2 separate regions of the Homo sapiens genome follow, and region 1 is linked to region 2. Evidence: promoter capture Hi-C in 16 types of primary human blood cells and fetal thymus (Javierre and others, 2016). All regions are on one chromosome and are shown on one strand. Each heading gives the region's core, a stretch centred on a gene start or on the middle of the fragment in contact. The rest is flanking DNA. Distances are from core to core; before and after follow the strand shown. Region 1 overlaps LOC124905249 (a long non-coding RNA gene). Region 2 holds the start of ACE2 (angiotensin converting enzyme 2).

Region 1 (2,700 bases), core at 135-2,634, 850 kb after region 2:
GTGCCAGTTGGCTGCTGGTCAACTAGGTGTCTCAGCTTCTGGAAGTTGGCTGGCTGTCAGCTGAGGTAATAGGAGCCCCTGGGGTCACGGATCTCTCATCATTCAGCAGGCTAGCTTGGGCTTCCTCACACGACAGCAGCGGCAGGGTCCCAAGAGCCTCAAGAGTGGATATGCCCCAGTGAGCAAGAGCTTTCAGGTCTCTGCTTGCATCACATTTGCTATTGACCCATTGGCCAAAGCAAATCAAATGGCTATGCCCAGAGTCAATGTGGGAGGGGACTGCCCAAAGGCATGGATACAGACAGGTAAATAATTTGTGGCCATTTATGCAATCTACCAATATCCCCATAATCAAACACAGAACCTTATAAATAGTAGACATGAAATAAATACTTATTGAACTGAATGCTATCTCCCCTTCATGAAAAATCGAGATAAGACCAATAATCTCTTTCCTCTCTACACTAAGTACACCACATCAAGGAGACAGAAGAGGCTGGCTGACCCCTCCTCACAGAGGGTTACCTCACCCTGGGTGATGGAGCCCATCACTTGACAGTCACCTCATAACCATGGTCTTCTCAGCTCCTGGGGTGAGGGGTGCGTTCTTACTGGTGGCTGCTTCCCTAATGCTCTTAGGATGGCAGGACTTGCTCTTCTCAGTGGTTCCATCAAGCTCCCAAGGGGAGTCCCTTGGCCCCCTGCTTCTGCCAAGTCCTGCAGTGACACCTTTATGAAGCAGCTCAAATTAGCAGCCCTGCTCGCCCTCTAGTGGTTTCTTAAGGCTGTACAGCCCTTTGAAGAAAAGTGTTCGAGGCCTTCTACAACTGTACCAGAATAAATAATTGCGGGTGCTTTGGATCAGTGGTTTTCAACAGGGCGTGATATTTTCCTGCAGTGGACATTTGGCAGTGTCTGGAGACATTTTTGGATGTCACAGCTTAGGGGTGGAGGCTGGCATCTAGTGGGTAGAGGCCGGGGATGCTGCCAAACATCCTACATTGCACAGGACACTCCCATAACACAAAATTGTCCAGTCCAAAATGTCAATAGTGCCACAGTTGAAAGATCTTGCCTTATATTCAGAGTGAGCCCTCATTTGTTTTAAGGATGCACCCACAGGCCCACCCAAGGTTGTTCCATGGATGGATCACCCACTCTGGGAAGAGTCAATCTGTAGGAAACAACCCTAAAGTCTCAATGTGAAACTTAAATCTCAGGAACAATTCCTGGGGCATCCCATGATTCTCCAGGTTGGACAGACAAACTAAGCGCTAAACAGGAGCTTGGTTACAGGCAAGAACATCTTACTGTCTCTTTCCATTATCTATGCTCAATCCCATTGATTCAGAGAGCAATTTTCTCAGGAAAGAAAAGTGCTTTAAAGTTTTTATTGTAAGCCAACTAATAGCCCTAGGAAATAAAAATGTCTTCCAGTGGAGAATTGCACCGTGGGACTTCTGTGTGAACCATCAGAAACCTTTGATAAAATTTATATTAGTTGTGTAAACTAAAAAAAAAATTCTAAGCCCCCCAACCATCTGAAAGGACCCCTTCTCTCAGCCAAGGACATTCCAAAGAACCTGAAAAACTAGTTCAGGCAATGATGGGATGCCGGGGCTGGCGGGGTTGGGGGGCAGTGGGGGGCATAGTTGGACATGCCTCCTTATACCCGCCTTGCTTTGGAATTCAGGCACAACTGACCAGCATTCACATTACAATAGACATCTTAAGACTTTGTAGCAATAAGACACCGAATTCCAGCCTGACTCTATTATAGCATCACTTGACAGATAGCAGGCCCTGAAAGAAATTGAAGTATTTTACCCTAAAATATATTTTTTGACATATTTTGAAATGGCCCTGCAATGCTGTCTCTTGTGGGGAAAATCTACATTCTGGAAAGAATCCCTTTACTTTTCCAGGTCTTCGTCCTGATCCAGGAGAGAATTAACTAATAGTCTGGCACCTTTTTAAGTCTAATAAGAAATATTTACAATCTATTTTCTCTGAAGCCTGCTACCTAAAGGCTTCATCTGCATAATAAGAACCTTGGTCTCCACAACCCCTTATCTTAGCCCAGACACTCCCTCCCATAGATTCCAGGCCTTTAGAAGAAGTCTTTCAACCAATTGCCAATTGGAAAATCTTTGAATTCACCTCTGACCTAGAAGCCCCCACTTCCAGTTGTCCCACCTTTCCAGACCAAACCAATGTACACCTTACATGTACTGATTGATATCTTATGTCTCCCTAAAATGTATAAAACCAAGCTGTGGCCCAACCACCTTGGGCACATGTTCTCAGGACCTCCTGAGGCTGTGTCATGAGTACGTCCTTAACCTTCTCAAAATAAACTTCTTTTTTTTTTTTGAGACGGAGTCTCGCTCTGTCTCCCAGGCTGCAGTGCAATGGCGCGATCTCAGCTCACTGCAACCTCTGCCTCCCAGGTTCAAGTGATTCCCCTGTTTCACCCTCCCTAGTAGCTGGGATTAAGGCGTGTGCCATCACACCCGGCTAATTTTTTGTATTTTAGTAGAGACGGGGTTTCACCATGTTGCCCAGGTTGGTCTCAAACTCCTGAGGTCAAGCAATCCACCCACCTCAGCCTCCCAAAGTGCTAGGATTACAGGCGTGAGCCACCGCACCCGGCCCTCAAAATAAACTTCTACATTGATTGAGACTTGTCTCAGTTCCTTT
Region 2 (2,729 bases), core at 230-2,729:
GCTCATGCCTGTCATCCCAGCACTTTGGGAGCCTGAGGCAAGAGGATCACTTGAGCCCAGGAGTTCAAGACCAGCCTGGGAGACAAAGTGAGATCTCATCTCTACAAAAAAAAATGTTAAATGATGCGAGAGGATCATTTGAGCCCAGGAGGTCAAGCTGCAATGAATCATGATCATGCCACTCCATTCCAGCCTGGGCAACAGAGCGAGACCCTTCAAAAAAAAAAAAAAGTATGGGCCTCATGCTCTCTCTTCACAGCTTCTGGTAACTCACCAAGAAATAGCTACAACGTGTCCTTGATTTTGTTTTTTGGCGAGGAATTGCTTGATCCTGAAAGTCTTGTAAGAAAACATGATGAGAAATGGTCAACCACACATACCACAATGGCAGAGAAAGGGAGAGAACTTTGGAAACCTGTTTTAACCAAGCTTTTTTTTCCATATCTCTATCTGATGGACTTCTCCACACTTCTACATCAGCAGCTTTATGACACTATACTGATCAAGTTTGGATGCCTTCTATTATTTTGAGGTATATTCTCACAGCTTGACATAAGGATCACCACTTAAGGATACTGTTTTGGGATCTGTGAGAGAAGAAATTCCTAAATCCTTGCACTTGTTAAAGCATCTGGCTTTCCCAGAGCATTCTGATATTTGTCAGAACTGGTTTAATCATAGTTTTTTTGTTGTTTGTTTTTGTTTTTGTTTTGGAGGGCTCTGCCTGGATTCTGTGACCTTTTGGAGTCCCTTGGAGGTCTGTGACAAAGAGGAAAGGAATTCCCAAGTCCAGCCTCACCCAAGCCCTGATTAGCTTAATTACTAGTTCTTTCACTAAGCCTCCAGTTGCATTTTTCAGTTAATATATCATTTGTAGAGAATCTTTAGATATTCCTATTGATATTGTAGGCTAAAGGAAATTATTAACTCAATAACTTATGGCATTTCCATGAAATGCTTTGAAATCCTGACTGTGATGAGAATTATGGTGGTAACTTTATAAAGAATATTCTCTTGTTTCCAAGCATCTGGATTGAGACCAGTGAATTATTTTGTAACAATTTTCTGAATGAACCCCAGGGTCAATTAAGTTTAGTTATCTGGGACTCCAAAATCAGGGATATGGAGGCAAACATCCAATCTCACAACTCAGAGCATTTTTTTTGATTTCCCTTTTCAGTTTCACGGGCAGTAATCTAATCTTTAAGAGGCAACAAATAGCCCAATAGAGCCATGAGAACTCACCATGTTTTGGACATTCTCTTCAGTAATATTGGTGTTATAATTCCAAGAAGCAAGTGAACTTTGATAGAACAGGTCTTCGGCTTCGTGGTTAAACTTGTCCAAAAATGTCTTGGCCTGTTCCTCAATGGTGGACTGAGCAGCAGTTACAGCAACAAGGCTGAGAAGGAGCCAGGAAGAGCTTGACATCGTCCCCTGTGAGCCAAGATCACATCCACTGAATGACTTTCCCTAGACTAAAACCTCCTCATGAGATTTTCTCTCTTATCAGCCTTTGAACTTGGGTTGGGCGCTGAGCAGGAAAGACCAAAAAAAGAAAAAGAAGAAGAACACAGTAAACAATCTGCTGAGCCAATATAAAGTTCATCCTGGAGAGGACAGATATGTAACAGATTTTAGAATAATTTTTTAAAGTGAATCAAATAAGAATACGTTATTCTTTAATCCTAGAGAACCTTACCTCTCCTGTCACTTTATGGCCAAATCAAAACCGGTACTTTTGGTTAATATTTTCCTAGAAAGCTGTTAAAGATACACGGAAAATGTTATAATTTTACAGTGACCAAAGAGGTCTAGAACTAGGGATCATGAAGATAATGTTGGTGTTTGTATGGTTTTCAGACAATTTCATTAATAGGTTATCTCACATTTATTTTTATTTCAAGATCATATTCCCAGAAACTCTCTACTTGGGCAACATTTTCCCTTCCAAATACATGACTTTGCCCTTGTCTTTATGGAATTCATATTTCTGATCAGTTTTTTTTTTTTTTTTTTTTTTGAGACTGAGTCTCGGTCTGTCGCCCAGGCTGGAGCACAGTGGCGCGATCTCGGCTCACTGCAAGCTCTGCCTCCCAGGTTCACGCCATTCTCCTGCCTCAGCCTCCCGAGTAGCTGGGACTACAGGTGCCCACCACCACGCCCAGCTAAGTTTTTGTATTTTTAATAGAGACGGGGTTTCACCGTGTTAGTCAGGACGGTCTCTATCTCCTGACCTTGTGATCTGCCCAACTCGGCCTCCCAAAGTGCTAGGATTACAGGCGTGAGCCACTGTGCCCAGCCATTTCTGATCAGTTTTAATTTCCATGGCCATTTTTTAAAATTATGACTACTCTCCACTCCACAGGTCAACTCTCCTGATCTGCCTTTGCAAAACTTAAAAAAGCTCATTTCCTATTTCTCACACTGGTTCTGTGGCTGACTTCTTTGAGTGCCTCCTTCTCCTTCACTTACCTATTCAAAACTCAGTCAAGGTCACGTGGAAGTAAGAAAGCCTCCACATGGTATGAAATCCAAAGAGTATCTATGTCAACTCCTGATCCTCTGTAGCCATGGGATCACAACAACATAGAATTCAAAGAGATTTTAGTGGTTATCTTGTCAAATTTCAGAAGCGAGCTCAGTGTCCTCATTGCCAGAGTGTATGTATGAGTGCCACAGATCAAAGAGAGGAGCACTTTAAATGGCAGGGTTCAAGGGCCTACCTG

The links. The method cuts DNA at HindIII sites, captures the fragments that hold promoters and counts their contacts. A CHiCAGO score of 5 or more calls a contact.
Region 1: a fragment that was not itself captured here is called in contact with the fragment with the promoter of ACE2 in region 2 in 1 of 17 cell types (naive B cells); the score reaches 5.5 in naive B cells.

The regions. Positions count from the first base shown.
Region 1 is chrX:16,444,603-16,447,302 of GRCh38, forward strand. All of the region lies in intron 1 of LOC124905249 (a long non-coding RNA gene), which reads right to left. Among named protein-coding and RNA genes, the nearest start is that of MIR548AM, 180 kb to the right of the region's middle. RefSeq lists enhancers at 675-874, 1,944-2,469, 2,470-2,700. The HindIII fragment of the contact is 2,987 bases long and covers 1-2,700 here.
Region 2 is chrX:15,599,481-15,602,209 of GRCh38, forward strand. It overlaps ACE2 (angiotensin converting enzyme 2), which reads right to left and starts at 1,480. Exons shown (of 18, transcript NM_001371415.1): 1 at 1,246-1,480. The coding sequence starts at 1,431. RefSeq lists an enhancer at 105-1,304, promoters at 1,431-2,729, 1,431-1,968, 1,431-1,612, 1,432-2,649, 1,432-1,885 and 2 more and cis regulatory regions at 1,470-1,475, 1,513-1,519, 1,579-1,584, 1,609-1,616, 1,675-1,680 and 5 more. The HindIII fragment of the contact is 4,764 bases long and covers 428-2,729 here.